3 separate regions of the Homo sapiens genome follow, and regions 2 and 3 are each linked to region 1. The links are contacts of gene promoters, found by promoter capture Hi-C in blood cells and fetal thymus (Javierre and others, 2016). All regions are on one chromosome and are shown on one strand. Each heading gives the region's core, a stretch centred on a gene start or on the middle of the fragment in contact. The rest is flanking DNA. Distances are from core to core; before and after follow the strand shown.

Evidence for each region. The method cuts DNA at HindIII sites, captures the fragments that hold promoters and counts their contacts. A CHiCAGO score of 5 or more calls a contact.
Region 2: a contact is called between a fragment that was not itself captured here and the fragment with the promoter of MMP8 in region 1, in 2 of 17 cell types (M1 macrophages and M0 macrophages). The highest score is 8.0, in M1 macrophages.
Region 3: a fragment that was not itself captured here is called in contact with the fragment with the promoter of MMP8 in region 1 in 1 of 17 cell types (M1 macrophages); the score reaches 5.2 in M1 macrophages.

The regions. Positions count from the first base shown.
Region 1 is chr11:102,722,451-102,726,668 of GRCh38, forward strand. MMP8 (matrix metallopeptidase 8) reads right to left here and starts at 2,504. Exons shown (of 10, transcript NM_002424.3): 1 at 2,304-2,504; 2 at 1-223. The coding sequence starts at 2,405. RefSeq lists an enhancer at 1,711-2,910. The HindIII fragment of the contact is 5,644 bases long and covers 138-4,218 here.
Region 2 is chr11:102,889,506-102,893,723 of GRCh38, forward strand. No RefSeq gene overlaps it. Among named protein-coding and RNA genes, the nearest start is that of MMP12, 17 kb to the left of the region's middle. The HindIII fragment of the contact is 277 bases long and covers 1,831-2,107 here.
Region 3 is chr11:102,553,841-102,558,058 of GRCh38, forward strand. No RefSeq gene overlaps it. Among named protein-coding and RNA genes, the nearest start is that of MMP7, 25 kb to the left of the region's middle. The HindIII fragment of the contact is 190 bases long and covers 1,745-1,934 here.

The DNA.
Region 1 (4,218 bases), core at 1,254-3,753:
CCCACTTGGGGTTTCCTGGGGTTAACATAAAACCACCACTGTCAGGCACTCCACAGCGAGGCTTTTTCATCATGTCCAGAGTTTCCTCATTTGGCTTCCCCGTCACATTCAACCCAAAAAATCGCTGCATTTCTTTAAGCTTTTCAACGATCACATTAGTGCCATTCTTCCTTGTAGACTGATACTGGTTGCTTGGTAATTGGTAGAACTTTTCCAGGTAGTCCTGGACAAAGACAAGCACATAGGGGTCTTGCTGTGAAAGGACCTCCAGTTCTCTGGTCATTTTGCAACCCTTTCTAAGTTACTACAGAGGTCTGATAACTTGACAGCCACAGGAACAATAACACAAATTAATTTGTAGGTTGGCTTTGAGAGAACAACTCTTTTTAGAAAGAACAGTTCCTCCACTCAGTGCTCCAGTTAATGGTTATGCATAAAAAAGGGTGTCTCATAAGGGATGAGGATCACATCACACAGGCAAAGTGCTACTCTACAGTCAGGAGACTGTCTTCTTGTTTTTACAAAAAAATTAGGACTAACATTAATTGACTTCTCTTGAGGTATTTGTTGCATCAGTGCAGTTCCTCTTTTTTATCCTCTTCACTACTGTAGAAAAGGCTTATTTATTCTGCTGAACAAACAGAAGCACAGAGAATTAAGGAATTTTCCAAGTGATGATTCAGATTTTAACTCACCATGTTGCCTCTCAAATGAGAACTGATAATTTCAAAATAATTTCAAATATCTTTTAGGGGAACAGCAATATCATTGATATTAGCATTTTATTCACCAAAGTAACTCTTTGGAAGTGTTAAATTTAGTCAAAATCCAAAGAGTTTAGCCTAAAAATTACCTATTTTAAGTTTGGCTTAAAAGTTTCTTCATACACAGTGAAATGTAACCTAACTAGACCTCATGCTGCCTGTGAACACCTGGCACCTTGTCAGTGTCTTAGTCCATTTTCTGTTGCTATAACAGAATATCTGAAGCTGGGTAACTTATACATAAAAGGGGCTGATTTTCTCTCACAATTCTGGAGGCTGGGAAGTCCAAGATCAGGTGGCTGCATCTGGTTGGCTTCTGAGATGGCCTTGTGCTGTGTCATAACATGGCAGAGAAACAAAAGGGGAGCAAGCATGTGTGAAAAGGGGCAAAACACAAAGGGCAGCCCCTCTTTATAATACCCATTCTATTAATTACTAATCCAGTTCTGCAAGAGCCAGAACCCACTCCAGCAAAAATTAATCCAGTCACACAAGAGTGTCATTAATCTTTCTTAATGACCTAAGTACTTCTTAAAGGACCCACTGTCACATGGGCTACTAAATCTTTAACACATAAATTCAAGGGACACACTCTAACCACAGCAGTAGGTGACACTGACCAGATCACACGCTTTGGAATCAGACAGGCCTGGGTTCAAATCTTAACTCTGCCATGAATTAACTGTGAGCACTTGGCCACATTATTTATCTGATTTAAGATATTTTTGTCTCTGAAATGAAAATAATAATGCTCCAATAAGGTTCTTGTGAGGATTAAATGAGATATTTGTGAAATGTGTAGCAGTTGCCTTGCATAGAATAAGCACTCAATGGACTTTACATTAACCCGGGGGTTACAATTAAGAGATAACCTCTTAATAATAATAATGCTTTCTCCAAACTATAATGCTAAGAAAACTGTGCATGAGAGATTTGTGACAGAATTCCCTTGTGTTTCTTAAAAATTTGGGTTCACTTTCAGACTGTGAAACAATGGAAAAAAACTATTGGTTCTGCTTTTATAATGCTTCCAAGAGTTTATAAACAGTCCACAATCTGATGCTGGGAAATATGATTTTACTGTGTACTGATTTCTAGTTCATTGTAATCTACCATCCTCACATTATTTTCTATATCTGGAATTTTTGGCGGCAAAGAAAATGCCTGTATGGAAGCACCAGACATATAGTAACTTGATTGCAGATATCCTGGAAGGAAAAACCTTAGGTAAATGAGAAAGAAAATGATACCATTTTATAAATAAAACCATTTCTTCTACAAAAGTTTCCCAACTAGGGGTAACTCTACAGCAGTATTTTCCCAGCCTTTAAAGAATTCAGCTTGTTTTCATGTCCGGCTTTTAAAAGGCCTAGTCCTTACCAGCTTGGAACCCTCCAAATCACTAAAAGGAGATGTTCAATCTCAAACTAATCACCCAAATAATTTCTTTCAGGCTGTTTTAATTAACAAGAGAAAACAACCCACACTATTTCCTAATAATCAGCAAATCAAACATCACCTAACTGATAGTTCATTTACCTGAACAGTTTTTGTATTTTTCTCTTTAGAAGATACAGGAAAGGCCTTGGAAATCTGCACATGGAGTAAGAGCAGAAATGGAAGCGTCTTCAGGGAGAACATGATCTTCTCTTCAAACTCTACCCCTCCTGGCTTTCTTTCTGTCCCTCTGGGTAGGGCCCTTCCCTGGCGAGCACCCTGACGTTCACAGCATCATGTGTCACTCACAGCTCTCTTGCAGTCCTCTTTAAAGCCATGTCTTAAACAATTGCTGCATCAGGAATATGAAGCAACATAGGTTAATTACACTCTGACAGTTTTGCAATTTTATAATGTGATTTAGTACCCCCAAATGGGGGAGTCTTTCAACAGTCTTTCAAAACTCCAACTTTCTACTCTTTGCTTTTGGATGTTTTAGTTATTTCCTTTTACAAAATTGGTTGAGGAAAAGGAACAAGGGACTAATCCTGAAGTTATGTGGATACATTTTTTGACTATGTAAGATGTTGAGGTTGAATTAACTTATGCAGGGGAATATTTTGAGGTTTGTGGTAGATATCTTGGGACCAAGGAGCCCAACTAGAGAATCTCTGTACTTACCCTCCCTCATTGTATGTGGAGAGAATGAGTGACTGTGTTATTACAAAGCAGGCTTTGTATGGGGCCTAGAGCTGCTTCTGGAGGATGTGGTTTGGTATCAACATATTAGAAAATCCCTAGTCTATAAGTTAGACTTTCCATGGAAAAGATAAAGAGAACAATACTGATGATGATAATAATGAACATTTGCTAAAAAATTATGATTGCCCAGACATTTGTACTGTGTTCCACATATTACCCCAATCCATCTTCACATAGCCTTGGGAGGGAGATGCTATTACTATCTCCATTTTACAGATGAAATCAAATCCAGAGACATTTAGATGACCTGTTTAAGTCACATGTTTCATTTGTGGAGGGGCCAGGATTCAACCCCAGAGGGTATGTTTAGAGAGACTGAGCTGGGAGCTACTATAAGCTCTGCATGGTAGTCTCCCACTTGAGTCTCTGGCTGGGCCATAGTGGAGCAGCAGCTCTAGGCCTTCAACAGCTGGATACTTTGGCTTATATTCACAGGCAGAAGACAAGGGAGAGGGAGAATGAGATGTTGTACATCTTCAAGGAGTAAGACACTGAGAGATTTCCAGACAATATGGCTACATAGGAGACTGTTTGTCAGAGGCCCCTGGGCATGCTTTTCAAATCATGTAACCTGGTCCCACTTATTCTGAGTCCACATGCATGTAGTTTGTTATCATACACAGTCTTTGTGAATACTCATTTACATATATGCATACATATTTGGTAAAGGCAGGTATTCTTGTGTATAAATGCATGTGTCTACATGTATGATACATAGCATGTATTAATATGTAAAGAGTGTATTTGAGATGCTATGATAAGGAGTTCTGATCTTTCCTGAGGTCACTTAGGAACTTTGAAAATGATCCAAAGAAAGGTGTCTTGGGTTAGAACATATCTGGACAGCAGATTAATGTTAATGATGTATATTCCTACATTCATTCAGTAAACATTTCCTGTCATCTACTACATGCCACATGCTGTGATGGGTGCTAGAGTATTGGAGATAAATTAATAGAGGTTTGGATAAAATGCTGTGGGTGTTTGGAGGAAACAGCAGTGGTGTGGAGGGAGTGAAATCAAGGAAGGTTTCATGAGGGAGGTGGAATTTGAACCGGATCATGAAGAGGTAGAATGTAGACATGCAGAGATGTAGCAACCCATTCTTTGTATTAATATAAATGTGACAGCTTCCTGCCAAATTGTTCAAAGATCACGGTCATGTTCATCCTCCTTGAGTTCATGGCTTAATGTGGCTTTCTTTACATTAGGTCTTTGGTGAAAAAATGCTTTTTCCTCCACGAAAATGCCTTAA
Region 2 (4,218 bases), core at 719-3,218, 170 kb after region 1:
ATCCCAGTACCTAGACCAGTGCCTAGATGCAGTATGTGCCCAGTAGATATTTGATAGAGAGAGTGAAGAATACTTCCACTCATCCAATCTCCAACTCTTTCATGTACTTAACAAACATTTTGTTAACTTTTAGGGTCACCTGATACTCTTCCTTTACTCTATTCCCCTCCCACCACCACTTTTAATCAATTTTGAAGTCTTGTTATTTCATGTACTACTTATCACACTCATCTTCATTCTTTTTCTAATCCCATCTAGTCCATAAGTTTAACATCTCATACCTTGAGTCTTAAATGTCCTAATTAGTCTTTTAATTCCATTCTCTGTGAGACACACAGTTGTCAGAATTTTTTTCCTATGTTCCATTTTTTACATAGTGTTCCTTTTCTCAAAAATTCTCAAATATTCTCAAAATAAACTGAAAGGGGTTATCTCAGAGCAGAGCAATTACAAGGGATTTTTACTTGCTCCTTTGTATTTTTCTGTATTTTCTGAATTTATAGATTAATTTTTATTTCAAAATTCCAATACATTTTTTTAAAAAATAATATCATTGTTTCAAAGTTAATTCCACAAATATTTCCCGCCTGTGTGTCAGGCATTGTTTTAGGTGCTAGGGATGCAATTCTTGTTTTCAGGGCGCTCACAGTGTAAGAGGGGAGACAGAGAATGAAACAGATAATGACAATCAACTGATAAAGATGTATCCTCTGTTTGCTGCACAAGGGGCTTTACATGAATGACCATGCAGAGTTATGGATCCCAGAAGGGACACAGGTGGGGAACACACCCTTTTCTTTTTTTTTTCTTTTTGGAGACAGGGCTCACTGTGTTGCCTAGGCTGGAGTGCAGTGGTGTGACCATAGCTCATGCAGCCTCAACCTTCTGGGCTCATGTAATCCTCCCACCTCAGCCTCTTGAGTAGCTGGGACCACAGACGAGCCCCACCACACCCGGCTACACCCTTCTTCTGAATCCTAGAATAAATCAAAGAGAATCTTAAATCAGGTGAGAGTGTGAGGGAAGGCAGAGGGTGAGGAAGTTGAAGCCCACAGAAGTGAGAGAGTGTGCAACGCCCAGGAGGATTAGGGTGACACAACTGAAGCGCAGAGGTGTTTGTGTGTGTGTGAGAGAGAGAGAGATATGGGTCAAGGATGTTTCTGGAGTGGGAACTGCAGAGGAATGCAGGAGCCCAGATTCTGCTAAGGAGTTCCAATTCAGTCTTGACAGCACTGGGAACCACTGAAGAATTTAAGTAGAGGCAAGGCATGGTCATATTTGCGTTTAGAAACGTCATTCTGGTCACCTTGCGGAGACTGTGTAAGATACAGTCAGAACCCAATTTATCAAGGTCAAATTTCTTCACTTGTCAAAGTCCTTACCATCTGCCCCCTTCCTCCTTTTCTTGCCTCTTCTCCCACAGTTCCCTGCAACCAACACTGCCAGCCTTCTATTCCTATCCCTCTGACTTTGCTGCTGTAGTTACTTCTTCCTGACAAAGAATTTTTCTTCCTCTGTACCCCTTGATCTCTCCAGATCTTAACCTCCCTCCACCTCTCAGATACTCCCAGCCACAGTCCCATCTCCCAGCCACAGTCCCATCTCCCTGCTTTTCATGCTCCTAGGAATTGTGACTTTGCTTTATATCTGCCTGTGGTCCCAGCTATCACCACACACCTACAAAAAGCAAAACTCAAGATGTGCTGTTTCAAATGATAGTGACTTAAAATTATGATCCAGGCAGGGTTTTAATACCTTAATACCTGCCCTGAGATGGATGTATCCCCAAGTGGTGGATGTGGGTTGGATTGTGTAATTTCCTGTGGGCAAAGCTTCTTTTTCACCTAGATAAACTCTGAAGCTCTCTTCCTGGAGTTCCATTTTATTAGCTTACACAAGTGTACTCCCTGTTTTTAAAAAAATTATAGTTTTACATTTTATTTTTTATAGAAGTGGAGTCTCACTATATTGCCCAGGCTGATCTCAAACTTCTGGGCTCAAGCGATCCTCCAGTCTTAGGCTCCCAAAGGGATTTGGGATTACAGGTGCAAGTTACTATGCCTGGCCTGTACTCCCTTTTAAAGGTTGATTTTTTGATGTAAAAGAAAGCTTTACCATTTATTTTTACTTCAATATGAAACCTTCTCATGTGCTTTTTCTTTTTGGTGTTTGAAAGCAACCTAGCTAGAGAACAATGATAATGTGGGGCTGAGAGGAAACATCAGAAATCTGAGGTTGGAGAGGAAATGTACATGATAGGAATGGAAGCCACCAAGTCAGAAGACAAGCTTCCCAAACTTCTTCATGGTATAGGGCAGTAGTAGAGCTCAGGTTCTAGAGCACTGTTTCTCAAAGTGTGGTCCCAGACCAGCAGCATCAGCCTTTCCTAGGAATTTGTTAGGAATGCAAAATGTTGGTTTCTTTCCCAGACTTCTTGAATCAGAAACTCTAGAGGTGGAGTCCAGCAATGGCAGTTTGGGGACCACTGCTCTAGCATTTAAAGGAAGGATCTACAGAGGATTTGCGCTACAGCCTGCCTTTAGTTTTTTTTCCCTTTTTCCCTCTTTCCCTGCTCCTAGGCAACAAAGATAAAAATATAGTAAAAACTAGGTGCTTCTCTGAATGGCTGGATTTGAAGAAGTTCTATTTTAAAACTGCATTTAAAAAAAAGGGCCAGGTGGTTCACACCTGTAATCCTAACACTTTGGGAGGCCGAGGCTGGTGGATCACTTGAGCCCAGGAGTTTGAGACCACCCTTAACAACATAGTGAAACCCCATCTCTACAAAAAGCTGAGTGTGGTGGCATGTTCCTGTAGTCCCAGCTACTCAGGAGGCTGAGGTGGGGGAATCACTTGAGCCCAGGAGGTGGAGGTTGTAGTGAGCTGAGATTATGCCACTGCACTCCAGCCTGGGTAATAGAGTGAGACACCACCTCAAAAAAAAAAAAAAAAAAAAAAAACACCAACAAAAAAAACTCATTGATTACCTGCAGGGCACCAGCCACTGTCTGAGGCACAGTAAACAGAAAGAGAGTAACTATCCCTGCACTAGAGGAGGCCTGCTCAAGGCAGTATGTGTGTGTGTGTGTTTGTATCCGTGTTGGGATGGGGATGAAGTGGAAAGTGGGAAAGGCTTTTTGGAAATGATGAATCCCAAATTGCGTTTTGAAAAGTCGATTGGAGCACGAGGTCAAAGGTAGGAAGATGCACTTTAGCCAAAGGACCAGTTGTAGAAATGCTCAGTAATTCCCTTGTGAATATTTTGATCCAGAAAGATATACTAGAGCATTGCAGAAACGCAGCTGCCCAGGAGTTTGGTTTTTACTGCCTGACTTCACTTTGATTTCATGGCTTGGATGAAAAAGAGACATCTACTTCCTAGTTTCTCTCTATCTTAAAGTTCAATATTGAATCCAACTCTATTTTCTGGCTGTCTTTCAAGGATTTTCCTGAGTCTTCTGTTCCCACTGTTTCTGCCTAGATCTTCCACATACTAGAAGCACCAATCTCCTCCAACCATCTACAGCTCCCTGTGACCAAGATCATCGTGGGCAAAACTGATTCTTCTAATCAACATTTATCACACTTGCTTTTCACCAATGAACTTGGTCTTTAGAGCATTTACAAACAAGTATGAGGTGCCTTCCCTCAGAAAACTCACAACCCAATTAAAGACACAAGACCTAGATATAAAAAATAACAATTTAGACTGCAAATGACTTAGTAAAGAATTATATGAACTGTAAACCCCATAGAAGGACATGGCTTGACAAGTTATGGGCCACAGACCAAATCCAGCCTGCAAGCTAAAAATGGCCCTTCCTTCCACTTTTATTTTATTTTATTGTTGTTGGTTTTTTTTTTTTTAAGACAAGGTCTCACCATATTGCCTAAGCTGGTCTCAAACTATTGGGCTCAAGTGATCTTCATGCCTCAGTTTCTTGAGTACTGGGATGACAGCACATGTCACTGACCCAGGTTCCATTTTTAAATGGTTGAAAAATGAAATAAAAGTAATACACAGAGACACATGAAAACTATATGAAATTCAAATATCAGTATCTACAAATAAAATTTTATTGAAACACAGTCATATGCATTCAATTATATATCATCTATGGCTGCTTTCTTTCTCCAAAGGCAGAGTTGATTTTTTTTCTTTTTTTGAGACAGAGTCTCACTGTGTGATATGGTTTAGCTGTGTCCCCACCCAAATCT
Region 3 (4,218 bases), core at 590-3,089, 170 kb before region 1:
AAGTTGTTGTCAGGATTCAGCTCTTCATGTGTTGTTGGAATGATGACCTCAGGTCCGTACAGAAGTCTGTCCTCAATTCCTCGCCACTGAGACTCTCCATAGGGCAGCTCAAAACAAGGCAGCGGCTTCATCAGAGAAAGCAAGCAAGAAGAGTGAGAGTGAGAATGAGCAAGAGAGAGAGAGATCCCCAGCAAGTCCAAGGTCATGGCCTTTAATAACCTAATCTTAGAGAGCAACGCTCCATCATGTTTGCCATATTCTGTTTGTTATGAATCACTACATCCACTTCACACACAAGGGTGGGGATTACACAGGACAAGAATAGCCAGAGGCAGGAACCATTAAGAACTGTTTTAGAAGCTCTCTACCACATGGAGTTTCACTAATAGATACTCACAAGAATATTCATAGTTGCACCGTTTGCAACAGTTAAAGCAGGGAAACAACCCAATGTCCATTAGCAACAGAATGGACAAACATATTACAAATCATTGTAATATATTCATACAATTAAATTCTAAACAACAGTGAGAATGAACAAATTATACCTACATGCAGCAGTATGAATAAGACTTTCAGACATAATGATGAGCAAAAGGAATCAAACAAAAAAGAATGTATATTATACATGCTTGTTTCATTTCAAGGGTTTTATTCTTATTTAGAAATAAGTATAGCATAGATAACGAGCTTGGGAAAACTACTAATGTTCCCAATCTAACAAAGTAAAATCTTACAAAGCAGTTGGCTTATCTAACATCCTGACTCCCTCCATTTTGTGTTATAGCTGGAAGTTACTGGAAACCTTACCGAACTTCTTTTTCCCCTTGGATCTTATTTCTGAGAGACAGAGACACTCTTCAAAACTTACCCTCTTCCTGGGTAAAGAAGCAGTCCTTTCCATTAAGACTTCCATTTCAGAACTTTGGTGATACTTTATAATCTTTTTCTATCCTATTATAAAATAGCAATAGTAGACTTTACCAACAATATGGATTTAGTAACTCACATTGATCTAGACCACAGTGTACCTTTAAAGAACAGAAAATCTAAGTAAAAAATATTAGATATACTGAAAATTTAGTTGTGAGGCCTTTTGGGGTACAGAAAGCAATACCCCAAAATATGGTGCTTTGGCATGTTGAGTGCTTGGAATTAAAGAAAATTGAAGGAGCTTAGAAATAAGCCTCAGAACCAAGGTCTTTCTCTGACCTTCCCCTTCCTCCCTGTCTCTCTGATCCTTTTTCTTCATGAAGAAAGAAGGGACTCTGTGGAATTTTCTTCTCTGACTAAGAAAGCTTCTTACAAGGAGAATTGCAATTGTCTTAAAATATCCCTCCTAAGAATCACATGAAATAACCAGAAAAGATTAACCACTAGAGAAGAGGAGATACTGGGAGTCATCACCATGCCTAAACAGACTTTCCATCTATTCTTCTGAGGGCAGCTCCAGGAGATTAACTGGGAAGCTTTAACTGGATAATAAGACTACCTTTGTTCACTGTGAAGTTCTGCCCCTTGCCTTCTCACCACCTCCCTCCGAGCTCAAAGGAACTTTGTTATTTACTCCGTGCTGTATGAAGAAGGCTATATAAGCATCCGGACCTCATTGGATTATTGGGCAATCATTTTCCTGTGATTCTCCCATGCTTATGCACATTAAATACATTTTTTATGACTTTTTCTCCTATTAATCTGCCTTTTGTCAGTTTATTTTCAGCAAACCTTCAGAGGGCAAAGGTGAAGCTTTCCTTCTTTACCCTACAGGCCCTTGAGAGATCTTGAAATATATTCTTCATTACATTAAAGCAATTCTGTGCTGTGAGAAAGAATGGCAACTAGTCTCTGTCAATGTATTCAAAAAATTATTAGGAGGCTATTATGTGATAGGAAATATTTTCAGTGGTAGAGATAATTTTTCCTTTTCTACAACAAGCTTAAATTGTACTAAGTCACTTAATATTTATTTGTGTAGTCATTTATTGAACTAACACCATGTAACACGTTTTATGCACATTAGTAATCATTATTTTATTGTATCAGCTTTTGCTATGTAATAAATCACTCCAAACACAGTGGCTTAAAATAAACATTTTATCTAGCTTTTGGGTATCTATGGTTGGCTGGGATGTTTGGGAAGGCTGGGACTTTTGAGGCAGCTAAAATGGCTTAAATGGCTGACTTCTCTCTGTATAACCTCCCATTCTCTGGAAGACTAGCTGATAATTCTTCACATGGTGGTCTCAGGGTTTCTAACAGCAAGACAACTCAAGCTCCAATGTGTACATATTTTTCAATCCTCTGCTTGCATTACATTTGATAATGCCCTATTCAAGCCCAAATTGAAGTTTAGATTTAAGGAATAAAAAAATAAATTCCACTTCAATATAAAAGGAGTGGCAAATTCACATTTAAGTGGGCACATGTACAGGGCTGGTAAGAATTACTGTGGCCATTTCTGCAAACGGTTTACTGTGTTTAGCATCCCCATTTTTCATTCAGGAAAACAAACTCAAGGAGTAATTTGAGCAAGTTTATAAAGTCGGACAGGATTTGAACATAGAGGAGTGACCATCAACTTTATATTCTTCCCATATATCACCCTGCTTCTAGGTGGAGCGAGCTTCACAAACCACTTTTCAGAGATTGCCAACTCTGAGAAAAAGGAAAGATGTGACTTTGCGACAACCATTTTGCCTGCTGTAGGAAGGCAGTCAATACAAATGCACTCTTTTATGTCATTATGTCAGTGCTCTGGGCATAGTCAGTGCTCTGGGAAGTCTCCCAGGCAGCCTATTTTCCAGTACAAGGACTAGCTTAGACCGAGGCAATGAAAAATTCATGACAAGAGAGTTCAGAAAATGTAGTGTACTTGCTGCCTTCAGGTACCACTTGATTGACTTCTCTCATATTGGGCTCTGCAGTAGCCATGTAATAAAGCAAGGGTGGGAAATTCCATGTTGGAAGCCCTCTTCCTGGGGCTCATCCCTGAAGGCTGTATGGTTGCTGCCTAAGATGGTAAGGGTATCAGGCAGGTTTACGTGGTGTCTGTGGCCGTGGCAGTATGTACAGAGGACAGTGACCATAATAGTGTCATGGAGGGGAATCTTCCTAACGAGATTTAGTTTACTAAGTTAACATTGCAGGTATTACTTGAATTGTATTCCCTGCTATATGCAACTATTAAATTAGATTTTTTCTTAGGGATGATCCTCTTTATATTTTATTGATAAAAATTTAGTGACAATACTTCAGCTATTTCACAGAGTTGTATTTGCATTCTGACTAATTAGTTCAAAATGCTACCTCTAGTCTGGGCATGGTGGCTCATGCCTATAACCCTAGCACTTTGGGAGGCCGACACAGGAGGATCGCTTGAGCCCAGGAGAAAGAGACCAGCCTGGGAAACATGTGAGACTCTTGTTTCTACAAAAAAAATTTAAAAATTAGCCAGATGTGGGGGCATGCACCTGTGGTAATAGCTACTCAGGAGACTAAGGTGGGAGCATCACTTGAGCCAAGGAGGCAGAGGTTGCAGTGAGCTATGATCGCACCACTGCACTGCAGCCTGAGCGACAGAATGAGACTTGTCTCAAGCAAAAACAAAAACAAGAACAAAAACCCAACAACCAAAATGCTGCCTCTAGTTTTCTGCCTATTTGTGTAATGCATATGCATATTTCTGATATGTTTATGTTTGCAGAATGAATAGACTAACCAAAGCTAAAGCACAAATGCAAAAATTGGCATTGATGAGAACTGATTCTACTTACGTGACATTCTGGAAAAGAGAAAATATACGAACAGAAAACAGATCAGTAGTTACCACGGACTAGAGAAAGCTGAGGGAATTGACTACAAACGGGCACAAAGGAACTTTTCTGGGTGATGGAAACATTCTACATCTTGATAGTGGTGTTGGTTACCTGACCTCCTAAACTCATAACTGTACACTTAAAATGGGTGAAATTTACCATATGTACCTCAATAAGCCCAACTTAGGAAAACAATAAAAATAATGATGCCCCAACCATCTTATTTAAATAATCTACATTTTAAAAGATGCTAAATTAGGATAAATTTTAAAATTTTTCAATGAATTTTACTGTTTAGAAATTTATCATTAAGGAAAACTATTCCAGACTTAGAAAACGTAGAGATAGTTGTGTCCTTTCAAACTCATATAAAAGCATTGTCTAATAAGCTGACCTGAGGGAC